Regions from separate parts of the Homo sapiens genome. Here region 2 is linked to region 1. Evidence: promoter capture Hi-C in human tissues and cell types (Jung and others, 2019). All regions are on one chromosome and are shown on one strand. The core of a region is centred on a gene start or on the middle of the fragment in contact, and the rest is flanking DNA. Distances in the headings are between cores, read along the strand shown. Region 1 holds the start of COL9A2 (collagen type IX alpha 2 chain). Region 2 overlaps CAP1 (cyclase associated actin cytoskeleton regulatory protein 1).

The links. Contacts are between HindIII fragments. The study calls those that stand out against the background at their distance.
Region 2: a contact is called between a fragment that was not itself captured here and the fragment with the promoter of COL9A2 in region 1, in 1 of the 25 tissues and cell types used here (bladder).

Annotation. Positions count from the first base shown.
Region 1 is chr1:40,314,629-40,321,921 of GRCh38, forward strand. COL9A2 (collagen type IX alpha 2 chain) reads right to left here and starts at 2,658. Exons shown (of 32, transcript NM_001852.4): 1 at 2,495-2,658; 2 at 962-1,036. The coding sequence starts at 2,569. RefSeq lists enhancers at 473-732, 1,516-2,152, 2,153-2,789 and silencers at 903-962, 973-1,072, 1,833-2,342. The HindIII fragment of the contact is 32,999 bases long and covers 1-7,293 here.
Region 2 is chr1:40,041,849-40,049,326 of GRCh38, forward strand. All of the region lies in intron 1 of CAP1 (cyclase associated actin cytoskeleton regulatory protein 1), which reads left to right. Among named protein-coding and RNA genes, the nearest start is that of CAP1, 4.9 kb to the left of the region's middle. The HindIII fragment of the contact is 3,941 bases long and covers 3,869-7,478 here.

The DNA of each region.
Region 1 (7,293 bases), core at 1,408-3,907:
AAGAAGGTACAGACATGCTGATGTCATGAGGTGCCAGCTGTGAGACCCACTACCAGGGCTGGGGGCTCCAAGCTGATGCCTCTTGGATTTGGGCACGTGTGGGAGGAAGGTTGGGGCTTTTAGAGAAACGTGAAGGGGGATGAGCGAGTTGGGCAGCAGCTCTATTCCAGACTGCAGGGCAGGAGAACGGGAAGCTGAGCCAGTGGCAAGGACCAAGGGGGACTGCAAGGGGGAAATTCAGTGTTCCCAAGGAGGGAAGGACCTCCTTCCAGTGCCAAAGGACCCTTGGTGGTGGGCAGGCAGGGCCGGTAGAGTGCGATTCAGCCCCAGAGAGGCCTCCAGGCATTTCAGAGCCCTCAGCAGCCAGGGCCTGGCCGGGGGCCCAGCATCCTGTGTTTGGGGGGTGGGGGCACCAGGTTGAATAGAAGTCTGTCCAGACTGGTAAACATCAAGCGGCCCTCCTGCGGGAGCTTTCAGAATGAGGTATTTAACCCTCACCCTGCAGGGAACAAGCCCAGCTGATTCTAAATCGGGGAGAGAAAACCGAAGGGAAGAGACAGGAGTCTGGCCCAAGCTGGTCGGTGGTCTGGCCAAGGCTCCCAAGCGAACCTGAAGAAGCGTCCAGATGTGCCAGAGGCAGGGTGAGGGGTTGAGTCGCCTCCTACCCCACAAGGAGGGGAAAGGAGAGGAGGGGGATGAGGCCTCGCTGTGAGCTGCGGCCGGCGGACTGAACAGCAGCTCCTTGTCTGTCGGCGGCTATAACGGGCTCCGCATGTCAGGGCTGGTTTGAGGTTTTTGCAGAACAAACGGCGTCCTTGTGGTGCGGGCCGGCGCCGCCTATTGGCGACGAGGGGCACTACATCTCCGGGCACCCCGAAGTCCCCACCCCCACCACAGCGCTCACAAAGTTCTCCTTTGTCTGCCGCCTCCCTCCCGCCCTGGTCTCAGGTTAGAGACTTACGTCGATGCCGTCGGATCCAGGCACTCCCGGCGGTCCCGGGGGACCCGGGGGGCCCCGCTCTCCCGGTGGACCTCTCTGAAAAACACACACGGGGTGGGGCAGTCCTCAGACAGTGCAGGAAGCTGGGCGTCCCCGGGGCTGCAAGCGACCCTGGGAGCGGGGTCCTAGGGGCGCAGCTCTTCCGCGAACTCCCACGTATTGAGAATCTTCTGTATAGCAGGCACTGTGTGCCATTACATGCATTCATTATCTTACAGAATACTCAGAACCGGGAGGCGGGCGCTATTACGGGCCCCAGTTTGCAGTCGAAGAAACTGGCTCAGAACGTGAAGGGTCCATGGTCACTGAGAGTGGGCGGCGGCGCCAGGAGTCCGCCCTGGATCTGCCCGACTCCTTCCACTGTGCCAGTTTGCCCTTGCGCGGTCGCGGTGGGGAATAGATGGAGACGTGGACAGCTCAAATAAATCACAGATGGAATGTAAGGTTGTGCCTAGCAGGCTGCCGGCCCTCAGTGAGCGGTGGCTCGGGTTGTTGTTCTTACGTGAACGACAGGCAGAGACAGCGCCTCCTCCTCTCCCCATGGTGCGGGAAAACCCGACGGGAAAGTGGGGGAGGCGCAGAGAAAGGAGGTGTAGGGAGGTGAAGCGGGTACTATCTTCCCACTCGGAGCGCCCCTTCGGCAGCACAGCTGCCCGGTCCTCCCTCTGCTAAGCCCTGACTGCTGCAGGGGAGCAGGAGGAGCCGGCACCTCCCAGAAAGCAGACCCTCTCTCTGGATCCCGTTTGCCTGCAATTCAATGCCCCTGGGTGGGTGTGAGGTTTCAGGGAGGTCACAAGTCATATCAAGATGAGGCGAGCTCACAGCTGGAGAGTCTCCATCCTGCTGCCCATCTCTGAACAGATCAGAGATCTTAAAAGGCGGCCCTTTTAAGAGGCCAGCTCGGACCCAGGCAGGGGTCCCGGTGCCCACGACCTCCCCAGGCCGCGAAGTGCCAGGCTGGCGCCCCGCAGGCGAGCTCGAAACCACACCCAGCACCCGACCGGGCCCAGTCTCTGCCCTACCCGCGCGCCCGCAGCCCCCGGCGGCCCTCGGAAGGGAGACGTGGGTAGGCGGGCAGGGCCGAGAGGCCGCCTCGGGGCGACAGCGGCGTCTGGTTGGAGCCGGCGCCCCCTGGGAGGCGGCGGGGGCGGAGGCTGCGCAGCGGGTGAATGAGCACCATTGTATGCCCCGCCACCTGGGCTCCCCGGGCTGCCAGGACCGGGCGCCAGCTCCTGCCCCACGCTGCCTGTCCCGGGCCGGGCCGCGCGTCTGGGGACGGGTCCCGTTTGACTCTCCGGCTCAGCCACCTCCATTCACGGTGCCGCGATGGGCACCATGTATGCACCCACCGAGGGGACCTGCCCGCGGCGCTGTCCTCAGGTGGCCTCTCGGGCTAGGGGTGTCAGTAGGCGCGGGACACAGGCAGAGCTCCTCCATCCCGGACTCCAGACCCCGCACCCTGGACCCTGGCAGCGGAGGGGCTGCGAAACTTACAATCTGCGCCAGAGCGAGCACTACCACCTGGAGGAGAACAAGGAGGCTGCGGGGGGAGGCCGTAGCGGCGGCCATGGCTGGCGGCGAGACCAAGGGGGACGGGTGCGTGTCCGCGCACGCACCGACGGCAGAGTCTCCCGGCGCTCCTCCAGCGCTGGCTGTTCGCGGGCAGGGTGGGCTGGGGCTCCTGAATATGCGGGGGGCGGGGCGGGGGCCGGCGTGAGCTGTCACCTGAGAGGACCGGCGGGGTTGCCGGGAGGGAGGCCGGCGCCAGGCATCCAGCTCCGCCCCGCTCGGTCCAGCCTCCTGCGCCCACCCTCTGTCCTCGAGGGGCGACCGGGGTGCGGGTCGGAGATGATGGTCCAGTTTCTTTGTGAGAAGGCATAAGGCCGTCTGAGGTTCCCCTCGGGACCTTCAGGCCCCAGCACCTTCCCCCTGACGCACAGCCTGTGCCCCATCACTTACCCTACGTCCTCTCCAGGGCCCAGGCCGAGAGCACCTCGGGCTCTGCAGATCTTGCTGCAGGCTCTCCCCAGCTCCCGCCCACCTTGCTCCCCTCTCCTCTGGCTCCTTCCTCTCCAAGCACAAACAAACAGGCCTTTTCCATATTAATATGCCACAGTCCTTCCTGGATCAGCCGTCTCATGAATACTCCATCGGCCTCTTCCAGCTCTTTAGTGGAGCTGTGTGCACCTCCCCCACCCCCGAACTTCCTCACCTCGCTTTCACCTCCCTACTCTGTCCCAACAAGCAAATCTGTCTCCTGGAGGTCTGCAGTGAAGCCCAACCCTTCTTCGGTCCTCCAGGCAGGAAGCTGTTGGCATCTTCACCTGCCCTTGAAGTCTTCCCCATCCAAGCTCCTGCCATCCAGCTCCCCTTTTTCTATTGCCTTTAATTCTCTGCAGCTGCCTTAAGCACTGGTGTGTTTAGGATTGGGCCTTCTCACTCCATGTTCATAGAAACAACTACCACTTTATTCACCAGAGTTTCCGAACCCCGCTGTCCAGCATAGCCCGACTCCAGAGAGCCTTCCCTTCCCTCCCACTCACTTAGGCAATATTGGTAAAATGCTTTGGAATCTGACTTTTTCACAATTATAGATATGACCACAGGCACCCCAAACTCTATGAAGTCTCATTTTCCTCATCTGTAAAATGGGGATACTAATAGTCCATATATATATATATATATATTTTTTTTTTAAGACAGAGTCTTAAAAGGCTCTGGAGTGCAGTGGCACGATGTCAGCTAACTGCAACCTCGCCTCGCGGGTTCAAATGATTCCCCTGCCTCAGCCTCTCGAGTAGCTGGAATTACAGGCATGAGCCACAATGCCTGGCTAATTTTTATATTTTTAGTAGAGATGGGGTTTCGCCATGTTGGCCAGACTGCTCTTGAACTCCTGACTTCAGGTGATCTGCCTGCCTCAGCCTCCCAAAGTGTTGGGATTACAGGCATGAGCCACCGTGCCCAGCAAATTGTCCTTATCTTAAAGGGTTTTTGTGGAAATTGAATGAGATGACTCATGCGAGGCATTTAACCTCGAACCAGCACATAGTAGGTGCTTGATACATTTTAGCTTTCCTTATGATTTATGGATGACTGTTTTACTAGGTTGGCATCCAATGTGGGGAAGCTGGCCACAGGCAGATCAGCTAAAATGATGAACCTAGTTGAAGCTAGAAAAGTCCAACTCCATTGGGCAGGTTAGCAAAGGGCTCTGGATTTTGAAAGGTTGTCCTGGAGCTGAGTTTGGGAGAAAGAGCTTGAGAGAATGTAATTGCTCTGCCTAACAGAGTGAAGAAGAATTTGAAGTTTGTTGGAAGATGAGAGCAAGAGGAGGAGGATGTAAGAGAGGGATGGTGGGCATTGCTTGGGGTGGGTGGGGTAAACCTATAAAGGATTTTTAGAACTGGGATGTCCAAATTCAATTTTAAGTTGTTTGTTTCACATCACTTATCTCTCCATCTTTTGTGGGCTAACCACAAGAAAGGCCTTGTGTGAGTAAGTTTTCTTTTTGTGTGTGGAAATTATGGAAAGAGGATGAGTTTCACAGTCTGGACAGCACACATTGATGTATTAATTACCTGTTGCACCATAACAAATCACCCTAACATTCAGCAGCTTAAAATGACAATTTCTTTGGATTAGGAATTTGAGAGTGACTCTGCTGGTTCGGTCTGGCCTGGGGTCTGTTATAAGGTCATAGTCAGATGGTGGCTGGGCCTGATGTCACCTAGAAGGCTTCTTCACTCACATGTCTGATGTCAGTACTGGGAAGCCTTCAACCGCTGGGGCCGGAACAGCTGGAGTTGCTTGGACAGTTCTCTCCTTTATCTCTTTGTGGGCTTTCCATGAAGTTTCTCCAACATGGCAGCTTCAAGGTAGCTGAACATCCTCTATAGCAGCTCAGAGGGAGTAGGAGAGCACCAGACTGAAGAGAATTGCCACTCAGGACCCGTCCTTGGAAGTCATGCAGTGGCACCTTCACCACATTCTTACTGTTGAGGCAATTGCAAAGGTCTGCCCATGATCAAGGGGAGGGAACAGAGACCCCACCTCAAGGATGAATGTTAATGTCACATTTTTTAATTTTTTTTTTGAGATGGAGTCTTGCCCTGTCACCCAGGCTGGAGTGCAGTGGCGCAATCTCAGCTCACTGCAACCTCCGCCTCCTGGATTCAAACGATTCTCCTGCCCCAACCTCTGGAGTAGCTGGGATTACAGGCGTACGCCACCACTCCCGGCTAATTTTTGTCTTTTTAGTAGAGATGAGGTTTCATCATGTTGGTCAGGCTGGTCTCGAACTCCTGACCTCATGATCCGCCCGCCTCGTGATCTGCCCGCTTTGTCTTCCCAAAGTGCTGGGATTACAGGCATGAGCCACCGCGCCCAGCCAGTGTCACATTTTAAGAAGAGAATAAGGGATAAAATTTATTTATTTATGTCTTTCTTTCTTTCTTACTTTTGAGACAAGGTCTCCCTCTGTCACCTAGGCTGAAGTGCAATGGAGGAATCACCACTCACTGTAGCCTCAAGTTCCTGGGCTCCTGATCCTCCCACTTCAGCCTCCTGAGTAGCTGGGACTACAGGCATGCACCGCTGCACCCAGCTAATTTTTTATTTTATTTTATTTTACTTTGAGACAGAGTCTTGCTCTGTTGCCCAGGCTGGAGTGCAGTGGTGTGATCTCGGCTCACTGCAACCTCCATCTCCCGGGTTCAAGCAATTCTCTTACCTCAGCCTCCCGAGTAGCTGGGATTACAGGCGCCTGCCACCATGCCTGGCTAATTTTTGTATTTTTAGTAGAGACAGGGTTTCACCACATTGGCCAGGCTGGTCTCCAACTCCTGACCTCAAGTGATCTGCCCACCTCGGCCTCCCAAAGTGCTAGGATTACAGGCGTGAGCGACTGCACCCAGCCATGCACCCAGCTAATTTTTTATATTTTGTAGACACAGGGTCTTGTCATGTTTCCCAGGTTGTCTTGAACTCCTGGGCTCAAACAATCCTTCTGCCTTGGACTCCCAAAGTGCTGGGATTACAGGTGTGGGCCACTGCACCCAGCCTGGGGATGCAATTTTTATTATTGATGCAACCATCTTTGGAAAATACATCCTGCCACACTTGGGGTTATAAACTGAACCAATCCAGTGGTAGCTGAAGCTTAAAGCTGGAGCCAATCAAGATAAATTTTAGGCCAGGCAAGGTGGCTCACGCCTGTAATCCCAGCACTTTAGGAGGCCGAGGCAGGCAGATCATCTGAGGTCGGGAGTTTGAGACCAGCCTGACTAATATGGAGAAACCCCATCTCTACTAAAAATACAAAATTAGCCGGGCATGGTGGTGCATGCCTGTAATCCCAGCTACTCAGGAAGGCTGAGGCAGGAGAATAGCTTGAACCTGGGAGGTGGAGGTAGCGGTGAGCTGAAAGCACGCCACTGCACTCCAGCCTGGGCAACAAGAGTGAAACTCTGTCTAAAAAAAAAAAAAAAAAAAATTATATATATATATATATATATATATATATATATATATATATATAAATTTTAGGGAAGGCTTTGGACCACAAGACATGGACTGGAGGTTCCAGCCAATTGCATATGGGTGTTTGTTTGTTTTTGGAAACAGGCTGGAGTGCAGTGGCACAATCTTAGCTCACTGCAGCCTTGACCTCCAAGGCTCAAGTGATCCTCCCACTTCAGCCTCCTCAGTAGGTACTTCTTGCATAGGACTCTTAAAGCACAGGGAGACCCTGAATAAGTGGAGAGTCATATATCTACATTTCTGTATAAGAAAACTCCATGTTGGCCAGGTGTGGTGGCTCATACCTGTAATCTCAGTACTCTTGAAAGCTCAGGCAGGAGAATCACTTGAGGCTAGGAGTTCAAGACCAGCTGGGGCAACACAGTGAGACCCCTTTCTCTACAAAAAAAAAAAAAAAAATTAGCAGGGTGTAGTGGTGTCTCCCAGCTACTTGGGAGGCTGAGGTGGAAGGATCACTTGAACCCTGGAGTTTGAGGCTGCAGTGAGCTATGATTGAGCCATGACATCCTAGCCTGGGTGACAGAACAAGACCGTCTCTAAAAACACAAAAAATAAAAATAGAAACTTAAAAACAAATGGCTAGGTATGGTGGCTCATGCTTGTAATCCCAGCACTTTGGGAGGCCAAGGTGGGAAGATCCCTTGAGCCCAAGATTTCAAGACTGGGCAACATAGATGTATATATATATAATATTTGAAATCTATGATGAAAGTATATATATTTAGTTTATGATAAAGGTTAAATTCAAGAGC
Region 2 (7,478 bases), core at 4,589-7,088, 270 kb before region 1:
CTGAAGAAGCAGAGTTTTTAAGATGAATTTTGAAGGATAAATAGGAATGCGTTCGAAGAGTGGAATGAGAACATTTGAGACAGGTTAGCATCAGAACTGTGTCAGTTGAAGCTCTTTGTGGGGCTCTCTCTTCAAGAGAAAATCCGGGGGCATATCAGCACATTTATCATTTACCAGACTTTTATTTAATTTATTTATTTGTATTTTTAGTAGAGATGGGGTTTCGCCGTGAAGGCCAGGCTGCTCTCGAACTCCTAACCTCAGGTGATCCCCCCACCTCGGCCTCCCAAAGTGCTGGGATTACGGGCATGATCCACCGTGCCCGGCCCCACCAGACGTTTATTAAGACCTTAATATGTATGAGGCACATTTTAATGAGATAGCCTTTGTGGCAAAGAATACAGTTCTTCTGGAGTTTACAGTGGGAGAGGAAATAGACAAGTAAATGAGGGATGGCTTACAGTGTCATAGTGCATAGCACAGGGCTACAAGAGCACAGTGGAGAAATACCTGAGCCAGGTGCCCAGGGTTCCAGGAGGAAATGGGAGGCTAACTCTTGAAATATTTATTTAGCTACATAGGGAATCCGGAAAAGGGATTTCCAGGCAGAGACTACTACAGGTGCAAGGACCTGGAGAACCGGACAGCTGAAAGACCATGACGAGTTCAGTGTGACTGGAATTCTAGTAATGGCTGGGGAAGTGGAGGAAGTGAGATGTGGTCAGGTCAGTCATATGTGGAGGACATTGTAAGTCATGCTAAGGAATTTGGATTTTTACCCTGAAAGCTATGGAGATGCTTTGAAGGGTTTTATGCAGGAAAATGATGTCGTCAGATTTATATTTCAGAAAGTTCATTCTGTCAAGTAGGAGGGGACCAGCCCTGTGGGGAAGTAAAACAGTGTTTGGAAGCTCTTGCTGTAGACATGGCCTGAACTAAGACAGTGGAAATGGGAATGGAGAGGAGGCATCAGATGTGAGCAATATTAAGAAGATAGAATCCATAGAATTGGAGGCTGATTATGGGAATGAAGAGGTAAGAATAGCGCGATTGCCTGGCTTTCTGGCTTAGGGAACTGAATGGGTAGTACCATTCAGATAGAGAGTATGAGAGGTAAATTAGGGAAGTGACATGGGAAAAAATGCATTTTGAATGTTTTTAGTTTGAGGTGTTTGTAGCACATCCAGGCAAAGATGTCTAATAAGGTGGGTCAGCTAAAGGAAAGAGCAAGAGTAAAGATACGGAGGCAGGAGAGGGCCTAAATTGTTCAGTGATACTGGGGCCTGGAGTTTTGCAGAAGACCAGACTGCAAAAAAGGTTAGATGTCGGCCAAGTTGTGAAGGGCTTTTTGTTTGTTTGTTTGTTTTGAGACGGAGTCTTGCTCTGTTGCCCAGGCTGGTGTGCAGTGGCACAATCTCGGGTCACTGAAACCTCCACCTCCCAGGTTCAAGGAATTCTCCTGCCTCAGCCTCCTGAGAAACTGGGATTACAGGCGTGCGCCACCACGCCCGGCTAATTTTTGTATTTTTAGTAGAGACGGGATTTTACCATGCTGGCCAGGCTGGTTTCGAACTCCTGACCTCGTGATCCGCCTGCCTCGCCCTCCCAAAGTGTTGTGATTACAGGTGTGAGCCTCCGCACCCGGCGTGAAGGGCTTTTAATGCCTTGTTGAATTTGTTTGGATTTGATTTTGTGGGTGGCAGTTTGCTAATTGATTTGCCCAGGTCCAGCATAAAGAAATTTCTGGGCTGGGCACAGTGACTCACGCCTGTAATCCTGACACTTTGGGAGGCTGAGGTGGGCAAATCACTTGAGATCAGGAGTTCAAGACCATCCTAGCCAACATGGTGAAACACCATCACTACTAAAAATACAAAAATTAGCTGGGCGTGGTTGTGCATGCCTGTAGTCCCAGCTACTTGGGAGGCTGAGGCAGGAGACTCGCTTGAACCCGGGAGGCGGAGGTTGCAGTGAGCTGAGATTGCACTGCTGCACTCCAGCCTGGGTGATAGTGAGACTCTGTCTCAAAAAAAAAAGAAAAGAAAAAAGAAATTTCTCGCTTTTTCCAGAAATACTTCCTCAATTGGGTAGGCATAATTGATATCTCAGAGAAGTTTAAATAAAATGGTAGCAGCAAAAGTACTTTGTAGAATACAGCCTGATGTGCAAACCAAAAGTGGTGATATTGTTAAGATTCAGTGAGTATATTTTTGCTTTGGAGTTTAGCTATTGAGTCTGTAAAATGTTTTGTTTCCAACCTAGGGATGATCTTTTATTCTCACCCTTTTTCCTGGTTGCAGTTATTTTTTTAGCTTTTAAAAAGTGACTTTCTTGAGGCTGAGTTAGAGACTAGCCTGGTCAACATAGTGAGACCCCTGTCTCTACCAGAAAAAAAAAAGGTGACTTCCTCCTTTCAGTTTTTTGTGAAGCATTGTGAATCAAATTTTTTTTTACTTAAGCAAATGCAATGTGTCACTGGAAGCCGAACCTCTGGTTTGAAATTTAATGCTGAGATTTGAAATATGAGAGTTCTCGAGCGGTATCTTACCCAATTTTAGTGATTATTACTTTGAAATGTTGACATCAGTTTCTTTCTTTATTTGTGCTAACCTGGCTTTCATGACCTATACTTCAGTTTCTCTATGACAACCAGACAAATCTTTTTAAAGTTCTCTAAGAAGAAGCATTTTTCATCTTGTTAGTCTTCACTGACTTCATATTTACAAAGAATAAATTCTGAACTCTTTTTTCCATCTTACAGAATTCTCTACAGTTTAGACCCTTATCTTAATTTTTATTAGATGATACAGGTTGACTTTCTAATTTAGAAAGTCGTGAACTAGCATTTTACTTAACCTTTTGCACCTCCCTATGCTCCTTATTAAATTAGAACAGGGTTTCTCAACGTTGGCACAATTGACATTTTGGGCCATATAATTCTTTTTTTTTTTTTTTTTTTTTTTTTTGAGACAGAGTCTCTATCTGTCACCCAGGCTGGAGTGCAGTGGCACAATCTCGGCTCACTGCAAGCTCAGCCTCCCGGGTTCACGCCATTCACCTGCTTCAGCCTCCCGAGTAGCTGGGACTACAGGCGCCCGCCACCAGGCCCAGCTAATTTTTTGTATTTTTAGTATAGACGGGGTTTCACTGTGGTCTTGATCTCCTGATCTCGTGATCTGCTCGCCTCGGCCTCCCAAGGTGCTGGGATTACAGGTGTGAGCCACCGCGCCTGGCCATATAATTCTTTATTATGGAGTTGTCCTGTGCACTGTGGGATGTTAAGCAGCATCTGTCTCTACCCAGTAGATGCCAATAAGACTTCCTCAGTTGTGACAACCAAAAATGTCTTCAGACATTGCCATATGTCTCCTGGAGGACAAAATTGCCCCTGGTTGAGAATTGCTGCGTTAGAAAGTATCGTAGCTATGATTGTACAATGTCCCCAACTAAATTCTGTGAGGGCAGGCCCCATAGCCATACTTAGCACAGTCGATGGTACATGATAAGCACTCAGTATCCTACAATGAATGAATCATTTGTTTCTGTTGAAGCTTCAAGAAATTACTGTTCCTTCAAGGAATTTCTGGGTGGGCAGGTTGGAGTACAATGGTGCAATCATGGCTGATTGCAACCTCCAACTTTTGGGCTCAAGTAATCTTCTCGCTTCAGCCTCCTGAGTAGCTGGGACTACAGTTCTTTTTCTTTCTTTTGTTTTTTGTTTTTTTGAGATGGAGTTTTGCTCGGTCGCCCAGGCTGGAGTGCAGTGGCGTGATCTTGGCTCACTGCAACCTCCCCCTCCCGGGTTCAAGCAGTTCTCCTGCCTCAGCCTCCTGAGTAGCTGGGACTAGAGGCACACACCACCACACTCAGCTAATTTTTGTATTTTTAGTAGGGACAGGGTTTTGCCATGTTGGCCAGGCTGGTCTCGAACTCCTCAAGGGAACCACCCACCTCAGCCTCTCAAAGTGCTGGGATTACAGGCATGAGCCACCATGCGCTCGGCCAAATGTTTGATTTTTTTCAGAGACAGGGTCTTGCTATGTTGCCTGGGCTGGTCTTAAACCCCTGGCCTCAGGTGATTCTCTGGCCTCAGTCTCCTGAGTCACTGGGATTACAGGCATGAGCCACCACACCTGGCAGATGTGATCTTAAGAGAAGTGCCATTGGTTTGAGTACTAGAAGCAAGCTTCTTGTTGATGGTGTAAGTCAGCAGATTTCCCTCTCTATTGAAAATTGTGTGAATTCCTGTTTTGTTTGTGTTCCTTGTATTTAGAGTGCTTGGTTTTAGTGGACAGGGACTATCATTTATTTTAAAGTTGCATATAGGCTGGGCGTGGTGATTCACGCCTGTAATCCCAGCATTTTGGGAGGCCAAGGCGGGTGGATCACCTGAGGTCAGGAGTTCGAGACCAGCCTGGCCAACATGGTAAAACCCCGTCCCTACTAAAATTACAAAAATTTGCTGGGTGTGGTGGCATGTACCGTAATCCCAACTACTAGGGAGGCTGAGGCAGGAGAATCACTTGAACCCGGGGAGGTGGAGGTTGCAGTGAGCTAAGATCGTGCCACTGCATGATCTGCGCCAGCTTGGGTGACAGAGCAAGACTCCGTCTCAAAAAAACAAAACAAAACAAAAAAAAACAAACAAACACTAAAGTTGCATATAGTTTATGGAGTTATTCACATTTATTTTAGTTGATAAAATTATACAGTCATGTGTTGCTTAATGACAGGTACATTCTGAGAAATTTGTCATTAGGTGATTTCATCATTGTGGGAACATCATAGAGTGTACTTGCACAAATTTAGATGATACTGCACATGGTGTAACTTATTACTCCTGGGCTACAAACCTGTATAGTATGTTACTGTATCTAATACTGTAGGCAGTTTGTAACACAGTGTAAGTATTTGTTTATTTAAACTTTTTTTTTTTTTTTTTGAGACGGAGTCTCACTCTGTCGCCCAGGCTGGAGTGCAGTGGCACGATCTTGGCTCACTGCAACCCCCGCCTCCTGGGTTCAAGCAATTCTTCTGCCTCAGCCTCCTGAGTAGCTGGTACTACAGGTGCGCACCACCACGCCCAGCTAATTTTTGTATTTTTAGTAGAGATGGGGTTTAACTATATTGGCCAGGCTGGTCTCAAACTCCTGACCTTGTGTTCTGCTAGCCTTGGCCTCCCAAAGTGCTGGGATTACAGGCATGAGCCATCGCGCCCGGCCACATTTTTAAAGTACAGTAAAAATAGGGTATTATAATCTTATGGGATTTTGTGTTGATTAATCCCCATATAATCCCATATAATCTTATGGGACCACTGTTGATTTTGTGGTCCATCCATTGACCAAAATGTCATTATGTAATGCATGACTGTAGTTTCATAATTTTAAATTAATGCAGCTACAGCATTCACCATGAAATTATTTCTTGATGTACTATATGTTAACCTGATAAAAACAAAGTTCTAAAAATATGCCTCAGCTACAGTGCTGCTTTGTTTGCCTTGTATTACCAGACCTTTTGTGCCAAACTTTTCCATTTGGCTGGAAAATAGTTGAAATGTTTAATGGAAGGAGCAGACTTGCTTTGTTTTGTTTTGTTTTTTCCTCCAGAGGGCATTGAAATTCCTATACTTTAGTTAATTATAGACTTACAGTCTTTCCATATTCCTACTTGTAGATGAATCATGGCTAAGGACAAACGTCATCCTTGAATCCATCTTTATATATTAGAGTGGGAAATGCTGTTTTATTAAAGCAACTATTCAGGCTGAAATCAGCCAATGCAGTTTTCCCTTACACGCTATAAAACATGTAGAAGTAGAAAGGGACTGCCGAGTGCTCTGTGCAATTAGTCTTCATAATATTCTTTGAACGTAGGAGAGAAGAGAACCCATGACCACACAAAGTTACCTGTTTGCTCCAGACATTGAAACAGCTAGTTCCCAAGTCTAATTTCACTTTATACACTAACTTTACTCACTCCTGGAGTTTCAGGTAGAGGACATGTGTAAGGAGGGAACAGGAGACAGGTGTTGATGTTGGGTTGGATTCCTTCCCTCCGTAGAAGATAGGCCTTTCTTTTAAAATCTAAACCTCGGGTGGCAGTGACTCAGGCACTAAATGTCATTGGTTTAATCAGTGAAACCAAATGCTTAGAGAAGAACAGTGGCTCCTGATTTGGGTTAGATTTAGATGGCATCTTTTTTTTTTTTTTGAGATGGTGTCTTGCTCTGTCTTGGCTCACCGTAACCTCCGCCTCCCGGGTTCAAGCAGTTCTCCTGCCTCAGCCTCCTGAGTAGCTGGGATTACAGGCATGAGCCATTGCACCCACCCACCATCACGCCTGGCTAATTTTTTTATTTTTGTATTTTTAGTAGAGACGGGGTTTTGCCATGTTGGCCAGGCTGGTCTCGAACTCCTGACCTCAGGTGATCTGCCCTTCTCAGCCTCCCAAAGCGCTGGGATTACAGGCATGAGCCATTGCACCTGGCCTTACAGGCATGAGCCATTGCACCTGGCCTAAATGGCATCTTTACTGGGGCAAAGTGGTGCCTGTTATTTGGTTTCTGTGTTAAACAAGCCAACTTGTATCTTCTGGTAGCATGTGTAGGTTTTACTTTGTGACATGTTAAAACCTCGTGATAAGAATTCATTAGAAGTAGAACTAACTACTACATAGTTTAGTGGTAATTTAGAAGGGATAGTCAAGTAGAGATTTTTATTATTATTATAAAATATTATATGTTAAAAGAAAGTTTGGAAAACAGGTAGAAATTGTCAAAAACCCATCACCCAAATGTGACAAATATTGTAAATTTTGCGTTCAAGTTTTTTTCCACACTTCATTTAGCTATTCCCCTATAATTAGAAGTCCAAGATAGATATAGATAGATCAATAGATCTAACATTGCAGCAAACATCTCCATGCTTATCACTTTTCTCACATTATGATTTACTTTCTTAGGATAAAACCTCAGGAACAGGATTACAAAATTAAGAGAAGCATTTTGAAGCAAATCAATTGGGCTACCATAGTAGACAGGCTGATTTGTATGGGTGCTTTATTTTCAATTTTACCTAAGGATGATGACTTAGAAAAACAACTGTGGGACAAAGTAGAAAACATTTCAAGCATAGCAACTTCCTACTCAAGTAGAAATTCATGCTACTGTCTTAATTGCCTGGTGGGATGCAACAAGAACTGCACGCATAACCTGGTTCCATTTACTTCTGAATGACTTCCTTGAATAGGCAGAAGGAATTGGGTTAAGTTGTTAGAAGTATAAGAGTGTGAAGCAGCTTTGGCAGGAATCACTAGCCATTTCTAATTTTTTTTTTTTTTTTTTTTTTTTTTGAGACAGAGTGTCTCTCTGTCGCCCAGGCTGGAGTGCAGTGGCGCGATCTCGGCTCACTGCAAACCTCCGCCTCCTGGATTCAAGAGATTCTTGTGCCTCAGTTCTGGCAGAAGGTGGTGTT